7 separate regions of the Homo sapiens genome follow, and regions 2, 3, 4, 5, 6 and 7 are each linked to region 1. Evidence: promoter capture Hi-C in 16 types of primary human blood cells and fetal thymus (Javierre and others, 2016). All regions are on one chromosome and are shown on one strand. The core of a region is centred on a gene start or on the middle of the fragment in contact, and the rest is flanking DNA. Distances in the headings are between cores, read along the strand shown.

The links. The method cuts DNA at HindIII sites, captures the fragments that hold promoters and counts their contacts. A CHiCAGO score of 5 or more calls a contact.
Region 2: a fragment that was not itself captured here is called in contact with the fragment with the promoter of SMNDC1 in region 1 in 4 of 17 cell types (M2 macrophages, M0 macrophages, M1 macrophages and 1 more); the score reaches 14.6 in M2 macrophages.
Region 3: a contact is called between a fragment that was not itself captured here and the fragment with the promoter of SMNDC1 in region 1, in 10 of 17 cell types (neutrophils, monocytes, naive CD8 T cells and 7 more). The highest score is 16.6, in neutrophils.
Region 4: a contact is called between a fragment that was not itself captured here and the fragment with the promoter of SMNDC1 in region 1, in 3 of 17 cell types (neutrophils, monocytes and naive CD4 T cells). The highest score is 10.8, in neutrophils.
Region 5: a fragment that was not itself captured here is called in contact with the fragment with the promoter of SMNDC1 in region 1 in 15 of 17 cell types (megakaryocytes, fetal thymus, M2 macrophages and 12 more); the score reaches 23.1 in megakaryocytes.
Region 6: a fragment that was not itself captured here is called in contact with the fragment with the promoter of SMNDC1 in region 1 in 10 of 17 cell types (M2 macrophages, megakaryocytes, M0 macrophages and 7 more); the score reaches 12.9 in M2 macrophages.
Region 7: a contact is called between a fragment that was not itself captured here and the fragment with the promoter of SMNDC1 in region 1, in 1 of 17 cell types (neutrophils). The highest score is 6.7, in neutrophils.

Annotation. Positions count from the first base shown.
Region 1 is chr10:110,303,351-110,306,595 of GRCh38, forward strand. SMNDC1 (survival motor neuron domain containing 1) reads right to left here and starts at 1,570. Exons shown (of 6, transcript NM_005871.4): 1 at 1,398-1,570; 2 at 118-237. The coding sequence starts at 237. RefSeq lists a silencer at 1,082-1,401. The HindIII fragment of the contact is 6,895 bases long and covers 1-3,245 here.
Region 2 is chr10:110,694,578-110,697,822 of GRCh38, forward strand. All of the region lies in intron 1 of RBM20 (RNA binding motif protein 20), which reads left to right. Among named protein-coding and RNA genes, the nearest start is that of RBM20, 52 kb to the left of the region's middle. The HindIII fragment of the contact is 3,322 bases long and covers 1-3,161 here.
Region 3 is chr10:109,911,505-109,914,749 of GRCh38, forward strand. The region is part of intron 2 of XPNPEP1 (X-prolyl aminopeptidase 1); the gene reads right to left. Among named protein-coding and RNA genes, the nearest start is that of XPNPEP1, 10 kb to the right of the region's middle. RefSeq lists enhancers at 1,336-1,385, 1,732-2,387. The HindIII fragment of the contact is 2,633 bases long and covers 167-2,799 here.
Region 4 is chr10:109,930,821-109,934,065 of GRCh38, forward strand. No RefSeq gene overlaps it. Among named protein-coding and RNA genes, the nearest start is that of XPNPEP1, 8.9 kb to the left of the region's middle. The HindIII fragment of the contact is 4,489 bases long and covers 1-3,245 here.
Region 5 is chr10:110,675,912-110,679,156 of GRCh38, forward strand. All of the region lies in intron 1 of RBM20 (RNA binding motif protein 20), which reads left to right. Among named protein-coding and RNA genes, the nearest start is that of RBM20, 33 kb to the left of the region's middle. The HindIII fragment of the contact is 7,368 bases long and covers 1-3,245 here.
Region 6 is chr10:110,658,184-110,661,428 of GRCh38, forward strand. All of the region lies in intron 1 of RBM20 (RNA binding motif protein 20), which reads left to right. Among named protein-coding and RNA genes, the nearest start is that of RBM20, 15 kb to the left of the region's middle. The HindIII fragment of the contact is 1,324 bases long and covers 997-2,320 here.
Region 7 is chr10:109,959,717-109,962,961 of GRCh38, forward strand. All of the region lies in intron 2 of ADD3-AS1 (ADD3 antisense RNA 1), which reads right to left. Among named protein-coding and RNA genes, the nearest start is that of XPNPEP1, 38 kb to the left of the region's middle. The HindIII fragment of the contact is 8,042 bases long and covers 1-3,245 here.

The DNA of each region.
Region 1 (3,245 bases), core at 320-2,819:
AATTTACATATATACATAGGGTGGGGTGTAACCCCTCAAAAGGCGCTTTGGGTACTTAGGGATTCAAGCAATAATTTGAAAAACAGAGAAAAAGTACAATTGTCTACCCATACTTACTTGTAAATCTTTCTTCAATTTTAGCAAATCTTCATTTTCTCCATTTCCAGATAATGCAGCTTCAACTTGCTGGAGCTGAGCTTTGTAGCTTGCCAGCTGCTTTGCTAAATCCTCTGACATCTAGGGAAAATAAAAAGGGTTAGACCATGAAAACTAAACCAAAAATCAAGGCATAAAAAACTAACTCCCCTGTCTGCCTGAATTACCAGTTTTTGCCTCTAACTCCTTCTAACACTGCAGCTTAATTTACCACCATTACCTTTACTCTCAGTTTAGACTTCAGCTAAACCACAAACTTAAAGGCAACAGATTCTGAGGATTATAAACTTGAGATACATTCCATACTTTAAAAAAGCATACAGATACAAAGAAATTTCTAATTTTCTTTTAACTCCTATCCACAGGGTAGGTGCTGAATTCGGCTCAATAATCAGTGTTATCTTTTTAAAAAGCACTACTCTGTTGGAAAAGTCGAAACTTTCAAAAACAATCCAAATACTTATTTTTAAGCACTACAGTATGCTTCCAAAGCCAAACAAGTGCGTTTTTAAATTAACTACACAAACTACGATCTTTACTTGAACTATTCAATTAAGAGTGTATTTAAAAGTGCCTCTCCAAAACAAAAATCTTTCGCCCAGTCGCTTAAATATTTATCGGTGCATTATCTTCAGCAAAAAGAACAGCACAGGTACTCTCCCATTTAGGCATTCTAACGAATGTGCCTTTCGCCAAATCCAGCTCAGTCATTTTCCTGAAAATAAGATACCAATTAACCTTTTTTGATGGTTTATAAGCAAATGTACCACGTTTCCGAGGACCCTTCTCCTTCGTAAAATTCCCGTCCAACCAAAGGCTGGGAGCCTGCAAAGGCCCCCTAAGAGTTACAGCGACCCAGGCTGCTCTCCTCCCCGCCACGCAGCACCTCAAAGCCCGCCACAACTCGATCATTCGGACGTGGAAATCCACACGCCAGCTCCAAGACCACCGCCGGAGCCCCGCCGCGCTCCAACAGGCAGGCTCCACAGGGAGCCGCGCGGCGCCCAGCCCCACCCGACCCGGTCCCCTGCGGGCCGTGTTTGCCGCCGCCGCACGGAGGCCAGCGCCGGCCGGGCCGCCGAGGCTCAGCTCTGGCTGAGAGACGGCCGTGGCTCCGGGATCCAGGGCCAGCGCCTGGGCGTCTCCGGCGAGGCGGGCTCCTCAGCCTTGGGCCTCCGCTTCACCTCGGGAGGGACCCGGGCCCGGCCAGGCCTTACTCTCTCCCTCAGGGGGGTTGTTACCTTGTGTGGGGCTGGGGGCGGGGCGGCGGGAAGGGGTCGGGGCAAATGAGCCCAGTGGTAGTGGCGGTGGCAGCAGCAGCAGTAGCAGTAGCAGGAAAATCACCGCGACGACAGCAAGGCGACCCGGTCTGAAAAGGAAGAACTCGGTCGGCGGCGAGGGGGAAGGGAGGAACGCCGGGCACTGGAAGGAGGAAAAGACAGAGACGGTGAAGTCTCGCGAGAAATACAAACTCTCGCGCGAGGTCGCTCGACTCACGTGACTCCGCGCGCCCTCTAGCCAGTCCCTGGCTGTCAGGGACACGAAGTAGGCGGGGCCTAGGAAGGAAATGGCGTAGCTGGGCTTCGCCAGGCGCGGAATGCAGGTTATCTTCCTGGAGTTCCGGCTTGGAATTTATTGGAAATGCAAATTCTCAAGCCCCACCCCAGACCTCCTGAATCCAGAGACTCTTGTTTTAATAAGCTCACCAGATGATACCAATGTCCGCTGACGTTTGAGAACCACTGCTTTTCCGGGGCGGTGGTGGTGGGTGGCGGGGGGTGTTGGTGGGGGCTCTCTTTACGTTGCCCTGGCTGGTCTCCAGCTCCTGGGCTCAAGCTATCCTCCTGCATCGGCATCCCAAAATGCTAGGATTACAGGCGTGAGCCACCGCGCCCAGCCTGAGAACCACTACTTTATATGATACAAGCCTTAGTAGTAACAGAAAGCTAATTAAATCGTGACAGAAATAACCTATTGGAGAGAAGATTGATTTCTTTAAAATCTGTTTTGTTAAAACCTACTTGGTTTTAATTTAGTTGGGTTAATCTCGCCTGATAGGGAACAACGTCCAAGTTAGTCTAGAATGGTAAAGAGTGGTAGGAATACTCACATTTGTGTTCAAAAAGAAATGCCCCTTGTGTATGTTTGTAATAATATATACGCTTTCTGGACGGATACACAAAACTGTTCAGAGGTTTGGAGTGGAAGCCAAATGTTTTATTGATTACCCTCTTTGCTGTTTACCCTTTTTCCTTTTCTTTTTTTTTTAAACCATATATATATAATTTATTTCAATTAAAAAAGCAATAAAGGCCTGAGACACAAAGTTTTATATAGATGACAGGAAGCAACCTTTCCTGGGAGGTTGGGAGTTTGTTGCTGGATCCATAAAAAGGCCCACTTCTCGCGGATCACCTGAGGTCAGGAGTTCGAGACCAGCTCGACCACGTGGAGAAACCCCGTCTCTACTAAAAATACAAAAAAAAAAAACCAACAACAACAACAACAACAAAAAGCCGAGCATGTTGGTGCATTCCTGTAATCCCAGCTGCTCGGGTGGCTGAGGCAGGAGAATCGCTTGAACCTGGAGGCGGCGGTTGCGGTGAGCCGAGATCGTGCCATTGCACTCCAGCCTGGGCAGCAAGAGTGAAACTCCGTCTCAAAAAAAAAAAAAAAGGCCCACTTCTCAGATGGGCTCTTTTGAACTGTGCCAACATCTTTAGTTCCTAGTTTTCTTTTCAAGGAGCCTTCCCTTTTGTTCTCTACACACACACACATAACCCTTGCAGTGAGTCAGATAACCTGTATAGATGGAAACTAGGTCGGGTTTGTGAGTGTGAAAGATTGAAATTGCAGCAGAGGGCAGCAGTGTGTAGCTAGAATTAAGAAGGCAGACAAAACAGAAAGCATGTGCTTTTAAATAAATATTCGTTTAAAATAAAATGTAGTTTTAGAGAACTTCTGTTATTGTAATTGTGTGTTTTAAGAACCGATGCGAGGAGGAACTTCCTTGAATATAAAGTCAACCTTATTGTGTAAAAATCTCTTAAATGAGAACTTTTCCTGAACCCCATAGATCAGAAAATAGG
Region 2 (3,245 bases), core at 251-2,750, 390 kb after region 1:
AGATTGGACTCAAGTTACTAATACAGGAAAAGGCAAGTAGAGAAGGGTTGAGGTTTGAATTCTGAGCAGTTCTGCTTGAGGTGCAGAGCTGATGATGGTTTGGGTTAAGATAGCAATTTCCAAACCACAGCCCTCTTGCTAACAGCAAACTGGATTATACCATAAGAAGGCAACTAGTTCAGTTAGAACATACCTTAGTATTACATTTTAATCAGACACCACAAGGAGCTGACTGACGTTTAACTCCAGAGTTGTAACAATTTTGAATTGTTGAATTCAAAATTCAACAATTTTGAATTTTGCCCAAATTTAGGAAAGAATTGGAGTAAGTCAGGCTAGTGGCCTCCTATAGCAAGTCAGGAAAGATATACTAGCAGAGTATAGTGTCATGTCTGTGGTTCAAAGGTTGTGTCCTTACCTCTTGAGTTACATTTTGATTGACAGGGCAAAACTGAATTTTTCAGATATTGTCACTTCAAAGGATTCTTAAAACTCTGCCACAGGATTGATTTTTGTTACGATATCGTCAGGCAGTGAGTGAGATGACATCCTGAGGTGCTGAAATCCTTAAGTTTTCTGGCCCCTGCTGAGTGGATGACCCAAAGACCCCTGCAGTTTAACTGAGGTGTTTATTCATCTGCAGACTGGAAGCCAAGGATTGGAAATTTAACATGAAATAAATAATTAAACCTCACTTCCACAGGTGCAGAGGGCATAAATAATCTAACTGCATGCTGCCCAGGCATTCCATAGCATGGGCCATTTAGATTTAATGCCCAGGCACTCACTTGTAACTGAATATGTCGGAAGGTGGCTCCTGCCTGGGATGGGAACGGGTGCTATTTCAGAGCAGTGTGTTTGTCTGTCTGCTGGAAAGCTGCCTCCACCCTCAGACTCTTCTGGAGACCCTTTGCTGTCTTGGACTCCAGGGGAAATGTGTCCGCCCCTTGCCCAGCCCAGAGTACGAAATCTACAACCAACTCCTCTTCTGGTTAAACAAAGGAGGTGATGTATTGAAGAGAGGCCCAAGAGAAATGATTCATTTCATCAGAAATGTTTGGAGAAACAGATGAGTTCGCTGATGGGAGTGGACTTCACACACTTTGTTCTCAGAGTCATGAGTTTGAACCTGAGATCATTTGAGCATTGGGAAGTGGCTGAAAGTGGGTGTCATTTTCTGCTTTAACAGCAAATCTTGTGACAGGCACTGAGAGGTAGCAATCCATTTTCTGGTGACCAAGGGTAAGGATGCAACTACTAGTTCTAATTATGTCTGCATCACTTACATGGCTTTGCACACAGTACAAATGTAATAAAAATTTGTTAAACGAGTCACTGAAAGAACACTGATGCATTGTGATATTTTGTTCTTCCTAATAGTGGTCTTGCCTGAGCCAGTGTCACTCACAGTGGAGGTCCCTGGACCAGCAGCATCAGCATCTACTTAGGAATGCAAATTCTCAGGCCCTGTTCCAGAGCCAATCAGTCTCCTTAGTGGGCCCAGGAATCTGTTTTTAACAAAGCCTCTGGTGATTCTGATGCCTGCGGAAGCGTGAGCCACACTGGGCTAGAGTTTCTTTGGCCAGGGAAGTGATTTAAGAATTGTACGCATCCTTATTTCCTCTCCTCAGTAGGAAGTCACCATAGCTGGTTGCAAGAGAATCGCATTTTAAATCTTTAGATGTACATGTCCCCAACCCTACTCCCCCAGGACTTCTTACCCAGGACTCAGCTAGTCCCCTGGCTTTTTTTTCTCTCCAGATCTCATGTTTCCAGATTCTGTGCTCAGTCACTTCTTGGGAAATACAGATGGGGTTGGGAGGGAGGCATCCTCCCCTTTGCTGATTGCTGGAGGGGATTGAGCTGTCACGTCAGACCTCTGCTGAATGCCCACTGTGTGCAATGCCTGCACCACAGTGAGCAGTGCACAGTCCTCATCCCCAGGACCTCAGAAACTCCAAGGGTGGCAGACCTTGGAAGTGATGAAGGTGGGGATGAAGTGGCACTCACTGGGCTGGATCTAGGAGCACCCAGATGGGCCAAGCGCAACCGTGGGCTGGGGTGGAGTAGGAGGGCTTCCTGGAGGAAGTACTGCCTGGGCCATGGCTGATAGGGCAAGTGAGTGGCAGCAGGGTAAAGAGAGGGAGAGCCAAAGGGAATTTGAGGCTGAAGGAGCAGCACAGCTTAAAGCACACTCTGGAGAGGGTTTCGTCCAACTCTGGGGGACCTTTTTTGCTTTTTATGTTACTAGATATAGTAAAGTCTGCAACTCTTACTTTTACAGCTTGATGAATTCTCAAATGTGTGCTCATCCCTGTTACCACCACACAGACCAAAAGACTGGAGATTTCCAGCCTCCCAAAAGGGAGCCCATCCACAGCTCCCTGCCACCAAAGGCAACCCCCATTCTTACCTCTGTCATCATAGATTAGTTTTGTTGGGGACTTTTTTAGACTATCCACTTCTTAAGGAAAAAAACTTATCCTGTAGAGCCAAAGATGGCTCAGGCTTGATATGACTTTGAGTTATGTGTTTTGTTTGGTCTATGCAGAATTTTTTTTTTAAGCTCATTGCTCAGATTTAAAAGTTGGGGGATTTCACACAACAAAAGCCCAACAACACTGGGCTCGTGAACCTCAGCAGCAGTGCTGGGCTGTAGTCAGGTAGGAACCGTCCCCCTGAAGATGGGTGTCCATGCGTCAGTATCCCTGGCTGTTCCCCACTGCTCACTCCTAGCCAGCTGCACTTTTGTTACTTGCCTGGCCCACTTGGGCTTGGCCCATGAGTTTTCAATCCCTGCCTTTAAATATGGTTTTGTTTCTTAGTTTGGGGCCTCCTGCATGACTGAGGGTGCTTAGTAATTTCCTTGGTTCACTCTTCAGTGTGTATTGAGCACTAACTATGAGCCAGGCCCATGCCAAGAGCTGGGATACAGAGGTGTGCCCAGGCAGAGGGATTGAGGTATTGTTTGTTGTTTGCCATGCAGGCAGCCAGAAATGTGGCACAGTCCTACCTGCATGAGTTCACTTCTCACCACCTCCTTGGATGCCACCCATGCTGGTTGTTTCCTGGCCCCTGAGCCCACCTTGTTTCATGATCATCACACATCCACTGTCACTATCCCTTCATTTCCTCCCTGTCTGGTCCTCATCCTTCCCTCAAGCTTTTGCTCAAGTCTCACCTCTTCCAAGAAGTCTTCACTGACCAGCCCTTTCTCTTGTGATGCCTCCCTCCCCTGATTTTAT
Region 3 (3,245 bases), core at 233-2,732, 390 kb before region 1:
ACCTCCACTGGGGGTTCAAAATAAAGCCCATTGTGATCTCCCAAGCTTGCCAGCATCTAAAAATTTTACTCTGATATCTTTCAGGAGCTTCAGAATAGATTTATTGTGTTTTCAAACCATATTTCTGAGCAAGTTATCATTCTTAAAAACAGTCAAGCAAAAATGAAGCTTTCTTTAGGAGCAGGACTTCAACACTGGCTGCACATTAGGACTATCCGGGAAACATCTGACTTAACTGGTCTGGAGTACAGCCTTGGCTTCAGGAGTTTTAAAATGCAAAAATATAAGAGTCTAATATACTTTCTTTCAAGATCATTTATTTCTTTATAGACTCTGCCTTCCATTCAGGTACATTCTGACGTAAGGATTTTGGTGGCACTGACTGGGTGTTTAGTGCTGATTGTAGTATCAATATTATCAGTCACTAACTTCATCAATAACGTTAACACAACCAATCATGAGCACAAAATCTTCAACTGCAAACTAAAAACCAACAAAAACAAACTGGATCTGTTCAAAAACATCCTCTGCTTCCTGGTCATCACAACCTGCCTCCTCATTCCCACATTCTGATCTTCATCACTACCACCATCACATCATCACGTTTCCCCTGGTGACTGGCATATCAGACCCCCACAGAATCATCAGCTTTATCAGTCTCACTGACACTCCCCTCCACAATGCTACCTACCCCCATCAACACTCAACACTTTCCCTCTTCCTACTTCCTCATCCTTCAGGCCGATCACATTCATGTTCTGGGTGCAATGCAGCTACTTCTTTATCATCAATATTAGACATGATGAAAGAAGTCCCAATACCATAACCAATAGTTAGGATGTGGTAAGGGGCAGTGGCAGCAACAGTGAAGGTGAAGAAGATAGCAACAGGCAATGGCTGAGGCAGTGAGGCAGCTACCACTGAAGTGAATACAGTGGGCCCTGGTGGTTGAGGCAGCTGTACCCACAAGGAAAACAGGTGATGGAAAGTGATTGAATGAGTGAGCAGCTGGAGCTAAGGAGAGAACAAAGTTGGTGCAATTATATAAGTCCTAGCCATTGAGGTGGCACTGGTTGAAAAGGCAGCCAAGATGGAGGAAGTGAAAGTTGTAGCTAATGACCCTCATAATTTGTATAAGGAGTAAATGAGTTACTATACATATGGCACTTAGAAACAGTACCTGGCACATAACAAATGTCATGTAAATGTTTAATGTTATTAGAGTTAGACACACAACTAACCATAAATGCAATGTGATAAATTGTGTAAACAGGTGTGTATACCACTTCTCCGGAAGGCAGGGATGATGTCATCTCTGTATCCATGTATCTACAATTAACATATACATATGCTCACTCAAAGATGGCTAAATCAAATTCACAACATTGGATCTATGATCTTTTCAGTCTCAATGAACAGTAATGAATCTTCAGTGACAGATAGGCTCTTGCAAGGTGCTGTATTATGACATCTGCTCATTCCACATCCTATGACTTTTCAGAAATGTTAGAAACAGCCAAGAGCTAAGCAAAGTATGCAGCAAAGTAGGAAGCCAAGAGCAACAGGCCTAGTCCACGATGAAACATTAGCCCATACACTGCCAGGTATTTTCAAACTATGCCTTACAGAGAATGACTCACTTAAAAGTCTTGCATATACAGGTCTGCTTTTAGAAATAAGTTCCCACACCTTCAGCCTTTATCACAAACAAGATTTTTCACTGATTGTACATGAAAAGCACACCATACTTACCTCACTGGTGGCCAGGCAAATTAAACATGATAATGTGTGTGAAAGCACCATGCACAGCATCTATTACACTGCAGGAGCTCAAGAAATATTTGAATCTGGATCTGAAGCACCAGCTGGAATTCCCAAGTCTCGTTATAAGAATGGAAGGGGCCAGTTTACTCCAATTTCAGCATCTTAACACGGGCACAGATGCTCTTCCAGCATCAATAGCTTTAGAGGTAGTGGTTTGTTTCTCTGTTGCACAGCTGAGGGAACGCTAAGGGCTTTACATACATTAGTGGCTAATTCTCACAACAATCCTCCAAGGGAGGTTTCACTATTCTCATTTTACACATAAAGGAACAGGAGTTAAAAGGAGTTAAGTACTTGCCCAAAGTCAGCTGGTTCATCAGGAACCGGGACTCAAGGTCTATGCAATTCCCAAGTCCATGCTCTATTACACCATATTAGCTGGGGGACATAATAGAGCCTTAAAGTGTTCTAAGACCAACAGAAGCAAAACAAGTGAGCTCCAGTTTCCAGCTGGGATCTACAACCTCAGGCAACTGAAGCTACCTAACCTCTATTTCCTCATACATTACAAAAAGAAAAAGAAGTTATCTTCCAACTCTAAGTTTAATGATTCCATCACTTTTTTCCTTTCTTTACTTTCTCTTTTTCCTCCTTCCTCTGCTACCTCCTAATATGGTCCAAAATGTGTTGGATACATCTATATTTTTTAAAGAAAAAGGATCTAAAATTGCATGCAATTATAGCACTGATCTTCCAAACAGAGATTAGACGGGCATGGTTTCTTATGTACTTCAAGAGATCAATTTTTCAGTCAGCTAAAAAAAAAAAAAACACATGGTTCTCCTTAGTAGTCGTTAGAGCAGTACTGGCTTACTGGGATAGAAATACAGTAATACACCACTTTTCAGAATTCAGGTTTCTGGCAACCCATCAGACAATTAACCAGTTCTGGGGAGAAGGGACAGCCAAGAAATATTTCCCAAAAAGACTTTCCTAAATGCACACTCAATTTATAAAGGACAATAATATATTACAAGCTTTTCTCATTTTGCAATCTTATGATCAAAATTGAAAGCTAATTTCTAAGATAATGAAGGACTATATTAGAGAAATAGAGAACATTTTCCATAATAACCTATCTCCTTCTCCACCACCACCACTCTGACAAAAATGGAAAACGAAAAAAACAAACAACAAAAAAAAAGTTGTAATTCTCTAACTTACTACCTTAAAAAAAAATGGTAATGGCCAGGCGCAGTGGCTCATGCCTGTAATCCCAGCACTTTGGGAGGCCAAGGCGGGCAGATCACCTGAGGTCGGGAGTTCAAGACCAGCCTGGCCAACATGGAGAAACCCCATCTCTACTAAAAATACAAAATTAGCTGGGCGTGGTGTCGGGCGCCTGTAATCCCAGCTACTCCGGAGGCTGAGGCAGGAGAATCGCTTGAACCCGGGAGACGGAGGTTGCAGTGAGCCGAGAT
Region 4 (3,245 bases), core at 221-2,720, 370 kb before region 1:
GAGTGCAGATCGCGCCATTGCACTCCAGCCTGGGACACAAGAGTGAAACTCCGTCTCAAAATAAAATAAAATAAAATAAAAAATAAAAATAAAAATAAAAATCTGTGTCTTCGGTCTCTTTTGAAAAATCGGAAGGTTGGTTTGGCAATACTAGTCTTTCCTTCTATACAGTAACAAGGAACATGAACAGCGCAGGGACTGGCCCCATGAAATGGGACAGAGAGCCCTCCATTTAACCACTTACACTGTTCTACTTTACCTGCCAGACCACTATTGATGTCCAAATTTGTGACTCCTCCTCCTGGAGAATCTGACAAACATGGCCTGGATTTCAACTTCACTGAAATTGCCCTTGCAATTAAGCTAAGGTAACTACTTCTTGTCAGAATGGTTTCACCTTTCGCACCTAAACATAGAATCCCCCAAACTTAACACCAGCTAGCAAGTCCTCACTCTTCTTGTTTTGCAATTTGGATTTTGCAAGGCATGGGGCAACTCATTGGGGCTTGGCAGAGCCCCCAGAATTCTGGCAGCCCTGTGTGTACTGATGTCATGAGTGTCCCTTGCCATAATGCATCCTCATTACTAACTCAAATCTGCCAAACTCAAACAATTGGAGCTGAAAAACAGAGTAACAGGCTGCCTGAGCTGCAAAACAGTGCATAAAAATACTCAGAAAAACAATTAGTGCCTAGGACCATATCCAAGAATGAAAATCACTATTTATTATTGTTAATCATCCCTTTCCCTGATCACAATTTGCCTGCTAAAAGCAGCCCCTTCTCAAAATACAATGAGTAGTTCTAAAAGATATCTTAGTAATATAACCTAGTCATATATATTCTTTTCCTTAGTTTCTCATTAACCTATGTTTAATGTTTTATTCATCTACTCCTTCAATTTAATAACCTTTTTACCCTTACTTTTTCTTTTTTAAACAGCTTTATTGAGATGTTAGTTCTCATTACCATTCAATTTGCCTCTTTAAAGTGTCCAATTCATGTCTTTTATTATATTCAGGGTTTTACAACCATCTCCACAGGCACTTTTAGGGTTTTGTTTTTTTTGTTTGTTTGTTTGTTTTGCGACAGAGTCTCACTCTATTGCCCAGACTGGAGTGCAGTGGTGCAATCTCGGCTCACTGCAACCTCTGCCTCCCGGGTTCAAGCGATTCTCCTGCCTCAGCCTCCCAAGTAGCTGGGATTACAAGCGTCTGCCACCATGCCCGGCTAATTTTTGTATTTTTAGTAGAGACAGGTTTTCACCATGTTGGCCAGGCTAGTCTCAAACTCCTGACCTCAGGTGATCTTCCTGCCTTGGCCTCCCAAAGTGCTGGGATTACAGTCATGAGCCAGTGTGCCCAGCCAATTTTAGGACATTTTTATCACCCCAAAAAGAAATCTCATATCCTTTAGCATCACTCTTCTTTCCTCCCATCCTCCCCAGTCACAGGCAACCACTAATGGGCTTTCTATCTCTATAGAGTTGCCTCTTCCAAGCATTTCAGATAAATGAAATCCTACAACATATCATGCTCTGTGACTGGCCTCTTTCACTTATCATAGTGTTCTCAAGATTCATCTGTAATGTAGCATTCATCAATATTTCATTCCTTTTTTGCAGAATAATATTCCACTGTATGAATGTACCACATTTTACTTATCCATTCAAATGGACTTTTAGGTTGTTTCTACTTCTTGGCTGTTATGAATAATGCTGCGAGAACATTTGTGCATAAGTTTTTTTGTAGGTAGATTTCATTTTTCTTGGATAAATACCTAGGATGGAATTTCTGAGTCATAGGGTAACTCTATGCCTAACATTTTGAATAACTGATGAACTGGTTTTTTTTAAAGTGGCTGCACCTTTCCCACCAGCAATGCCTATTCTTATTACTCTTTATTAATATATTTGTTTTCTTTTTTCCATCAACTGTCCCCAGATTTCAAATGAAATTCCTAATTGCTTTTGCCCTTGGGGAAGTGGAGTGGCATTTAATTTTAGAGTGAACCCTTCTTTAGCCTCTCCTGTTAAGGACTCCGTTGGAGAAATCACACTTCAAGGGTCCCTTCACTCTTGTAAATCAGAATTGTTACCACAGTGCTACTTAAGCCAAAGTCTCTAAGTATCTAGCCTAGGTATTTTAGATACAAACAAAATAAAGTAATTCAATCATTTAAAGGCATAGACGTGGAAATTTGGAACTAGAAGGGGCCCTAAGGATTCCTTCATCAATGCCTTCATTTTATACATAAAGATGCTCTAACCAAACCGAGAGTCATGTGAGCAAGGCCACACAGCTGCTTATTAGAGAATAAGACTGAAACCCAGGTCTTCTGATTCCCCTCTATTCCTCTGATCAGTTCACCCTATAGTCTCTCAGCCAGCTGTGCTTAGCAAACACTGGGGCAATTATAATTCCAAGAGCAAGGGCTGCATTCATACATAGAACAGAGTGGAGAATTAGGTGATTCCGGGTACCATGGGCTGATTCTAGCCCATAGATGTATTTAGCTTACCCTACAAGGTATTTTAAGATTTTTTAGAAAATAGTTGCCAACTCATAAAAATGAAGAAATTTCGGCCAGGCGCGGTGGCTCGAGCTTGTAACCCCAGCACTTTGGGAGGCCGAGGGGGGTGGATCACGAGGTCAGGAGATCGAGACCATCCTGGCTAACACGGTGAAACCCCGTCTCTACTAAAAATACAAAAAATTAACCGGGCGTGGTGGCGGGCGCCTGTAGTCCCAGCTACTCGGGAGGCTGAGGTGGGAGAATGGCGTGAACCCGGGAAGTGGAGATTGCAGTGAGCAGAGATCAAGCCACTGCACTCCAGCCTGGGCGACAGAGCGAGACTCCATTTCAAAAAAAAAAAAAAATGAAGAGATTTCACCCCGCCCCCCCAAAAATCTGTTAGCATTGGACCTGCGGTTCCTGCTTAAATTTTGCAAGCAACAGGCTAGAGTTGAACAGTACCTCCCAGTACCCATCCAGTGGACCTCTCTTATCATGTCACCTGCCTAGTTCCTGAAAGTATTTTAATTTGGGACCCTTATTCCAGATAATTGAGACATATATGAGGTGTTTATGCATTTGCTCTCTGTAGAAGTACCCCCACCCCACCTGGTCCCGGTTAAAGAGAGAGGGAGAGAGATAGACACCAGACAGACAGATACTGGTTGGCAACTCAGATCTTTGCAGGCTTGCAGGGCTTGTGAGGGAAGCAGCAGGGTGAGCAGGAAGCTG
Region 5 (3,245 bases), core at 486-2,985, 370 kb after region 1:
TAGCTGCTATGGCTTATATTTCACAGATATATGTAGGGTTATAATGCAGTCTCTGAGAATGAGAAGCAGTGAGGGTGGACATGATTTAGGTAGAGTTTACTTGGTAGTCACCTGCAATGATAATTAGCTAACGGATAGTGGGCGCTGGATTTCTTCTTCTGGAGCATCCCAGGAATGGACTATGAATTCCAGATGTGGTTCTGCTTTGCTCCAAGAACTGACTGCATTTCCTTTTGTCTTCTAAAACCCAGAGGGTGAAACCAGGACATTTCCATTGTACTGAAATTTGGCATAAAATCTGGTGCCAATTGTACATCCCAGGGGCTGAAATCAGGATATGCTGAAATTCCCAGTGTCCTCGCTCTGCTGGTTCCCACTTCCTGACGGCGCTGACAGATAAGTGCCCTGCATCTCACAGAGAGAGAAAAATAGATATTTGGAAGTGGTATCTTTTATTGCCTATAAAGTTAAACAATGCACGAAACAATTATAACCAAGGCAGAGACGTTTAGACAACATGCATAAAAGGAAAAAAACAGTGGAAGAGAAACTTTGCTCTAAGATGAAATGCTAATTCTAACTATCGCTCTCAGAATTTATGGGGCAACATCACTTAGTACTTCTTACACTTGCGTTCCTGCACATTTCAAACTGTTCATATGGTAGTTTTTCTTCTGTATGACATTCTGCAATTGTAGAGTTTTTCTTTATATTACTTCATTCACAAATTTCAAAATTCACAAAGTGTCTATCAATTAGGAAGAACAACTTCTTGTACTTTTCTGATTTGCAGTCTCCTTGGTTGTGACAAACCTATTTGTTCTTGTCCCTGTATCGTTGATATAATCCAACTTGGCTTCTTTGGAAGCAACAAATGCTATTTTTTTTGCTTCAAATCCAATATTGGTTTTTAAATTTGTGGATGCAAGAGGCTATAAAGAGGTTTAAAATATATGTAGCTTGAAAATATTAATGTTTTTAAAAAATCTCAGAGTCACTTTAGAATTTTAAAATTTTCAAGTAAGGCTGCAATCAGATAGATACTTGTAGACTGTCTTAGGCTGTTTTCTGTTGCTTTTAACAGAATTCCTAAAACAGGATAATTTTTAAAGAAACCAAAATTTATTTATTATAGTTATGGGGGCTGAGAAGTCCAAGGTCAAGGGGCTGCATCTGGTAAGGGCCTTCTTGCTGGTGGGAACTCTGTAGAATCCCGAGGTGGCATAGGGTATCACATGGTGGAGGAGGCTAAGCGTGCTAGCTCAGGCCTCTCTCCTCTTATAAAGCCACCAGTCCCACTCTCATAATAACCCATTAATCCATTAACTATGAATATGTTAACCTATAAATGGATTAATCCAGAGCCCTTATGACCCAGTCACCTCTTAAAGGCCCTATCTTTTTTTCTTTTTTCTTTTTTTTTTTGAGACACAGTCTAGCTCTGTCACCAAGGCTGGAGTACAGTGGCTCCATCTCTGCTCACTGCAAGCTCTGCCTCCTGGGTTCACGCCATTCTCCTGCCGCAGCCTCCCGAGTAGCTGGGACTACGGGTGCCCACCACCACGCCCAGCTAATTTTTTGTATTTTTAGTAGAGATGGGGTTTCACCGTGTTAGCCAGGATGGTCCCTATCTCCTGACCTCGTGATCTGCCTGCCTTGGCCTCCCAAAGTGCTGGGATTACAGGCGTGAGCCACCGCGCCCAGCCAAAGGCCTCATCTTAAAGGGGACAAATATTCAAACCATAGCACAGAACTATTTGGTGCTAAATGGTATTTTGGGAAAACTGGAGTGTTACATATTGTTTAATTTTTCCAAATTTCTGATAAAACGGAAGATCTTAGATAGTTGGTGTGTTCGATGGGCATGTATCTCATGTTACTTGTCTTCATGTTGTAGACATCTCTCTAAAAATAATGATACCAACCAGGCTGGTAAAATGGCTTTCTGAATTGTTTTACTCGAGTCAGAGGGGATTTGCACCCTCTAGATGTTGCTCCTTCACAGCTTAACCCTCGGGGAACTTCATTTTTAATTCATTCAACTGAAAGAAGTATTTACTGAACACCTATTATGTGCTAGGTGCTGTCTTAGGTGCTGAGTGATGAATGGAATAGGTAATTCTTATGGATGGAGCTTCCTGTCTAGTGAGGAAAACTAACATAAACCAAAAAAATAGGTAACTATAAAACATAAACTGGGATAAATAATATTAAGGAAAAGAAAGGATTTCTTTCAACCTTATCTTTCTTATAGACAATGTGGGGAAATAGAGCTATGGGAGTACTCAAAAGTTTATCCACACAAAACAAATCCCTATAAAAACCTAACCAAAGAGCAAAGATTAAATGTAATTATGCAAAAAAATGTTTAGGTGTCAAGGCATTTAAATACATTACTTTGCCATTAAGTGGCTATGAGGGTGTCACTAAATGGAATTCTGTTTCAAGACGTACTTGAGCTCATAGCATGTTGAGACCATGATCTTCTCATAATTTGGTTCACTTTGATTAAAGCAGCATCATGCCCACTGCAGCATCATCAGAGAAAGGATCTCCTGAGTTAAGGACACCCATGGAAAGCATCCTATTGTGTGATTTCTCCCTTATTGTTCATTTCTGGGAAGGTACAGTTTGGTTTTGGAAAGCACTCTTGAGTGTGCAAGGCCGGGGGAGTCTGGGGTCTACTCTTCATCCTGCCACCCACTCCCTTGATCAATGAACTTGGCTTCTCTGAGACTTGGAGATTTGGTTTCCACATCTGGAATATAAAGGTGTTGAGCCTGATGACCTTGAAAGATTTTTCTAGGTCTAAATTTTATTACAGAAGCAGTGGGCAATAGGAGAATGTTTGGTGGTAGATTCACTTCATATCTAATGAAGATGTGACATTTTCATGATATGCTGCAGTAGAGGGAGCACTGGTCCAGGAGTCTGAAAGTTCAAGCTCAGCAATACAGAGACTTTTGGAATGACTTGGTTTATGTTCATTCAGGCCTGGAGCACAGATGGGTTCATGCTTTGCTGCAACCCACACTTGGAGATAAAGAGGCTCTGCAGTGGTTTAATATGCAGGTTCTCGGTTCAAATCCAGGATACTCTGCTGAGGAGCCATGGAGACCTGGGCAGGAAACTTGGCCTCCTGGAGCCTCAGGCTTGAATATATGAAATGGAGCCTCTGCTTCTTATTTATAAGTACTCCTGTCTTCCTCCCAAGGTTGGCACTAGGATGAAGGCTGTATAAAGTG
Region 6 (3,245 bases), core at 409-2,908, 350 kb after region 1:
AGAAAAGGTGATGAGGTCCAGAAAGGAGACTGGATTTACCAAAGGCCAGCCGAGTATTAGAGCAGTTCGGTGGAGCAGGGGAAACTTACACACCTGTGAGGGTAATTTGACGTCTCCTAGCCATGATGCAACAGTGCTGGGGGGTGAGTGAATGGCGCTGTGTTTTACAGTCTGTAGCATTCACAGGGCACTTTGTTTCCTTCTAGGTTATCCCAGTTAATCCTCCAACAACCCTGTGAAGTAGGTAGGGACTAAGTAACTAGGAGTAGCTCAGGGTCACCTAGCCAATGATCGGAGATCCCGGGCTCAGAGCCAGGCCTTCTGACTCCTTCCAAGTTGCGTGCCCTCCTCTTTTTCGTTTGAATTTCCTCCTCCTTGTCCCTGCCCACTGCCGTCCCCTTAGTTCAGGCCTCCCAGCTCTACCCCCGGCCTCCTGCTGGATTGGGCTCCACTCCTTCTTTCTCTGCAGCAGCACAGTCTTGACCTTGTCCTCTGCTTGCTGGAAGCCCTGCTGTGGCTTCTCCTGGCCTTTAGGTTAAGGTTCAGACTGCATGGAAGGCCTTTCCAGATCTGCCCCACTCAGCCCTCCAGCTCCAGAACTTCCTGTCCTCTCTTGGCTGCCCTCTTTCCCTCTCCTCAACTAGAACATTCTGAATTCTGCTTAGACCTCACCTCTTCCAGGGAGCTTTCCCCAACCCTAAGCAGGAAGGAGGGCTGAGTGACCCTCTTCCTGTAATTGTCTGTGGCTCCCATAGTAGCATTTGTCCGTGCTCTCCTCTTGCTTGTCTCCCATAAAGACCATGCAAAGTCCTTGCAGTCAAGGCCACTGCCACTCACCTTTGCTATCCTCATCACCTAGCAGAGCCCCTGGCACATAGTGTGTTGAATATCTGGGAATGAGGAACTTAACTGCAACTGAACTTTCAATCTAACTGACTTGGTGATGAGAAATACTAGTCAGGATGCTCTCATGGGTGAGACCTGATGTGACGCCAAAGCTTGGTTTTCTCCAGCTTATGTTTTATTTGGACTGCCTGTCTGAAAGGGCTAGACAGACATTTATGTTCAGAGAGGCCATATAAGAAGAATATAAATGCGGAAAGTCATAAACTTCAGCTCTGCTCTGGGCTCCACTCTCAAGCCACTGTGTGACCAGAGGTAGCACTTAGCTTCTTAGAGTCCACATGGGTTAAAGGGGGACCAGGGTATGGGGCTTGTTCAAACAGTCAATGAGATGACAGGTGAACATGCCTTGGTAGGAAAGCAGTACTGAATACATGTGTCCTCATGTAAGCCAGCTTTTTGTCTCATGCTGTCATCTCCAGCCAGAGGCCAGATTGTGTGCAGGCAATTTCCAGGCTGAATTTCTGAGAGATTTGATCCAAATAGGATAAATGGTGGAAATGACCACTAGGAACACTCCTTAAAACCTGCTTGCATCAATGCTTTCAATGATACATTTCTGCATCTCAAAAAAAAGTTTCTAAGCCCTAAGCTAGCATCTGCCTATTTCAAGCAATTTCTGTTCTTTTTTTTCTTTTCTTTTCTTTCCTTTCCTCTTCCTCTTCTTCTTCCTCTTCCTCTTCTTCCTCTTCCTCCTCCTCTTCCTCCCGTTCCCCTTCCCCTTCCTCTTCTTCCTCTTCCTCTTCCACTTCTTCTTCTTCTTCCTCTTCTTTTTTTTTTAATTTTTTTTTTGACAGGGCCTTACTCTCACCCAGACTAGAGTGCATACTGATCCTCCCACCTCAACCTCCCAAGGAGCTGGGGCTACAGGTGTGCACCACCATGCCTGGCTAATTTTTTTTGTATTTTTTTGTAGAGTCCGGTTTTCACCATGTTGCTCAGTCTGGTCTCAAACTTCTGGGCTCAAGCGATCATTCTGCCTCAGCCTCCTAATGTGCTGGGATTATAGGTGTGAGTGACCATGCTTGGCCTCAAGCAATTTCTAAAATAACACAAATCAAGACAACAGCAACACCAAGATACTGCTTTATTATTGCCTTGACATTTGCAATAATGACAGTTTAACTATAGCAGTAATAATGACAGTCGACTTGTGGCAGCTTAAAAAAAAAAGAAGCTGCCTGGAAAATAAGTGATTGCTCACGATTCCTCAGGGAGACTTACTCCAACCACCCTATTTAAATTGCATCTTGAACCCATCTCTTCCCATCCAGGCTGTCTTATTTTGCTTTATTTCTTCCACTTGTTGTCTTCTAGCATAAGGATCCCCAACCCCCAGGCCATGGACGGGTACCAGGCTGTGGCCTGTTAGGAACGAGGCCACACAGCAGGAGGTGAGCGGTGGGCGAGCAAGCGAAGCTTCATCTGTATTTACAGCTGCTCTCCATCACTCGCATTACTGCCTGAGCTCCGCCTCCTGTCAGATCAGTGGTGGCATTAGATTCTCATAGGAGGGCAAATCCTATTGTGAACTGCACATAGGAGGGATCTAGGTTGCATGCTCCTTATGAGAACCTAATGCCTGATGATCTGTCACTGTCTCCCATCACCCCGAGATAGGACCATCTAGTTGCAGGAAAATAAGCTCAGGGCTCCCACTGATTCTATATTATGGTGAGTTGTATAATTATTTCCTTATATATTACAATAAATAATAAAGTACACAATAAATGTGATATGCTGGAATCATCCCTAAACCATCCCTTGCCACCATAGTCCATGGAAAAATTGTCTTCCAAAAAACTGGTCCCTGGTGCCGAAAAGGTTGGGGACCGCTGTTCTGACAAATTATATAATTTACTCATTTATTATGTTCTTACTGTCTATTATGGCTCCTTTCACCCTGCCCCCACCACATAAGCTCTCCAATGGCAGGAGAGTTGTACTCAGTGATTTACCCCCCAGGGCCTAGGAGCAATTCCTGACACCTGGAAGATGCTCACTAAATATTTGTTGAATGACTAAGTGAACTATAGGTAAAAATACTGACTTTAGTGATTGTTATGTGGTGGCATTTGTTCCCTCTCTGAGCCCACCTAGGATATGAACTATATGGGCTTCAGGGTCTGAGTTTTGTGATTCAGGAAACTGAAAGTGGAAGGTGTTAGAAGATTGTAGCCTCTGCTCCTGTGGGGTTCTTGGAAGTAAGACTCTCCCTGGGCACCCGTGACTTGGTGCTCTTCTCATGGCCCAGCTCCAGCAGTTGCCAGTGTAGCCAGAACCCCTTAGGCTGGGATCTGACTTGTGTATTTGGTGGGATCTTGATGGTGGAGGGAGAGCAG
Region 7 (3,245 bases), core at 348-2,847, 340 kb before region 1:
CATCAAACCCCGCCTGGCATCCCTCTGAGGTCAGAATCCTCCTATGGCTGGGGTGGCTCCAGGAAGTGCTTAGAGCAACAAAAAACTTGGCAAAAATAATCCACAAGAGCATCATGAATGCAAAAACTCTTCCCATAACAGAACAATCACCAGAGGAGTCAGGCGCTTTTCTGTGGAAACCAGGGTGTACTTGAAAAACTCACCCAGAGACCAAGGCAGAGAGGAACGATCTGTTACCATCCTCCCAATTTGGCCTGCTTTTATTTCTCTAAAATCATGGTTTGCAATATGTGGGTGTTACTGTGCTGTTTTTTTCCCCTAGTAGAATGACAACCAGGAAAACCTCCACACTTCAACTGAGCAAGTATTTGTCGACTTGAGTGGGATATAGTGAATAATAACAATAGCTAATTGAGCACTTATTATGTTCCAAGGAATGTTCTGAGCATTTTACATGAACCGACTCTTGAATCCTCACAACAACCCTGAGGTAGGTACATTATTATTCCCTTTTTTTTTTTTTTTTTTTTTGAGACCGAGTCTTGCTCTTTCGCCCAGGCTGGAGCGCAGTGGCGCAATCTCGGCTCACTGCACGCTCCACCTCCCAGGTTCACACCACTCTCCTGCCTCAGCCTCCCAAGTAGCTGGGACTACAGGCACCCGCCACCACGCCCGGCTAATTTTTTTGTATTTTTAGTAGAGATGGGATTTCACTATGTTAGCCGGGATGGTCTCGATCTCCTGACCTTGAGATCTGCCTGCCTCAGCCTCCCAAGTGCTGGAATTACAGGTGTCAGCCACCGAGCCCAGCCCTTATTATTCCCATTTTTTAAATGAAAAGATGAAATAGAGAGATGTCAAGTTAGGGAAAGATTAAATTTCCTAAACAAACACCATAGTTCATCAATTCTAAAATAATTTTTGTCACATTTTAACATCACTGAAATTAGAATGTGTCCTACAACTGATGGCACGTTAGCATTGTGTCATAATTTAATTAACCACTTTTTTTCTTTTTTGGTGATGCTTAAAATAATATTTCATCTTACAGCAACAGTATCTTAAATTTGATGAGAAATGGCAGGGAGAGAGAGTCAGGGTAAAACCCGGGCAGTTTGACTGTGGAGTCTGTGTTCTCAGGCCATGCAATGAGAGATTCCCAGCTGCCCAGGGAGAAGGGGAGGGGAAAAAAATAGATTTTGATTTCAACTAGGAGTTCAGAAAATGCTGTAAGTAGGATTTCTGAGACCTCACCATTCACCTAGTTCTTAAATTGGTCATCAAAAACAAAACAAAACAAAAACTTTACTTGGTTTTTAAATGGATAAAAAGCTAAGGCAGCCTAAGCAGTTTTCCAGTCTTTTAAAAAAGAAATCTTCAATGCTTTTTGATAAACAAAGACCTCATACTGGTCCCCTCCCTATGACACCCCCAGAAATTCTGATACTATATGCTGACCCTACTATCACCCCACTCTGTGAGAATATTTGGCCTAAAAAATATTCAAAAACTGTCTTGTTCTGTGTACAATTCTGCGTGGGATTTGATCCACCTTTCTCTTTTCTTATCTTCTCAAGCATGATAATATTTAGATAGCAATAAACTTAATTTTTTTTTAAAGAGTGAGGGTGAGTGAAAGGGTAAAGAGGAATTGTGTGTGTGTGTGTGTGTGTGTGTGAGTGTGTGTGTCTGTGTGTGTTTTGGAATTGTTTTGTTTTGTTTTATATTTGGGTTGGTAAGGAAGAAGTCTGTATTTTTTTTTAAAGGAAATCTGTAATTTTAACCAATTTATTATTCCCAGTTTTTCTAGCAACAACACATTGATTTTGTTGCCCAGGAAACTGGTGGGAGTTTCTGGAGAATTAATTACCTCATTCCAAACCAGGAGGTCACCAACCACGCTCTTTTCAACTCTGTTTTTATATGAAACAAAGGCCATTCCTTGCAGCTCACCTGAGTCTCTCTAGAGTCTGAAACCTGAGTCTCTACTCATTCCTGGGATTTCGCACTTCCTGCTGCAAACCATATGTCAGGTTATGACGGGAAAACCCTATAGTTACATTTGGGGAGGGTGGGGGAGGAAGGATGAGGTCACAAATCCCTGCAGGAGGCAATCACAGCTCCAACTCAAAGCTGCTAGAAAAACATGTTCCAATAAATTAAATAGATTGTTTTCATAGCCCTTTAACAACATTTTGCTTTTTACAGTTTGAAGTGTCTTTCCCTCTGCTCTGTGCCATAAGTGGGCTCCTTTTAGACTTTTGCAAAAGCTAGCGGCTAGCCTGCCCTGAGCGGTAATCTGCCTGGATTTTGTTCCCTGCACCTGGAAAGTTCTTTTAATTGGAAGGGTTTTTTATTCCCTTCCTTTCTTTGGTGGAGACACCAAACACAGAGAGCCTGGGGGGAAATGGGGTCTCTCAAGTCACTAAGAGACTGAAGTGTCTTAGGGGGCTTTGGTGGTACTGAGGACTCACCTAGCACTCCAGTAAAAGACGCCTAGGGATTTGGGAGGCATGCCTCAGGGGAGAATTTGCCCTCCTAAGGACAAGAGGATGAAAAAGAAGGCTTGCTGACATGCCCCACTATTGATAGGAAACCCTGAGTACCAGGAGTAATCTGGTTACCCATCTGAACCACAAGAAATCTATCACTGGGGATGAGAACATAGTCCTTGTCCCTTAAGTGGAGGACAAGAAGAATGTTTCTTTAAAGATGACTGGCAGAAAACTGACTCATGTCAGGGTGGTGGAGGAGAGAAGGAACAGGATCTGAAATCTGGCAGACTTAAATTTGAATCCTGGCTCTGCCACTTGCTAGCTGCATGACCAGCAGTGAATGAACCGCTCTCTGAGCCTCTGTTTCCACTTGTACAAAATAAGGATAACAATATAAAGTATGAGTACTATGAGGATTAAATTATATCAAGTATTTACACTGCCTAACACATAAAGGCATGGAATGGCTGCTCTATCCATGCAATGCATCGTGCAGATCTCTCTGACTTCACATCTCCATGTGAGAGGATTAGGGCAGCACCTTGACAGCAGGTATGCCCCATTTTCTTTTCTCCAACAAAGCTCAGACTTATCCTATTCCTCAGCACACCTCAACTGCTTCTCCCTGGGGCCTGGTGGGCTTCAGAAGTTAAATCTGTGCTTATTCCACTTCTCCTAACAAGAGACCAGGAATGACGAAGGCTCCAGCCTTGTAGCCATTGTGTTTCTTGGGCCAATTTAGGTTAATGT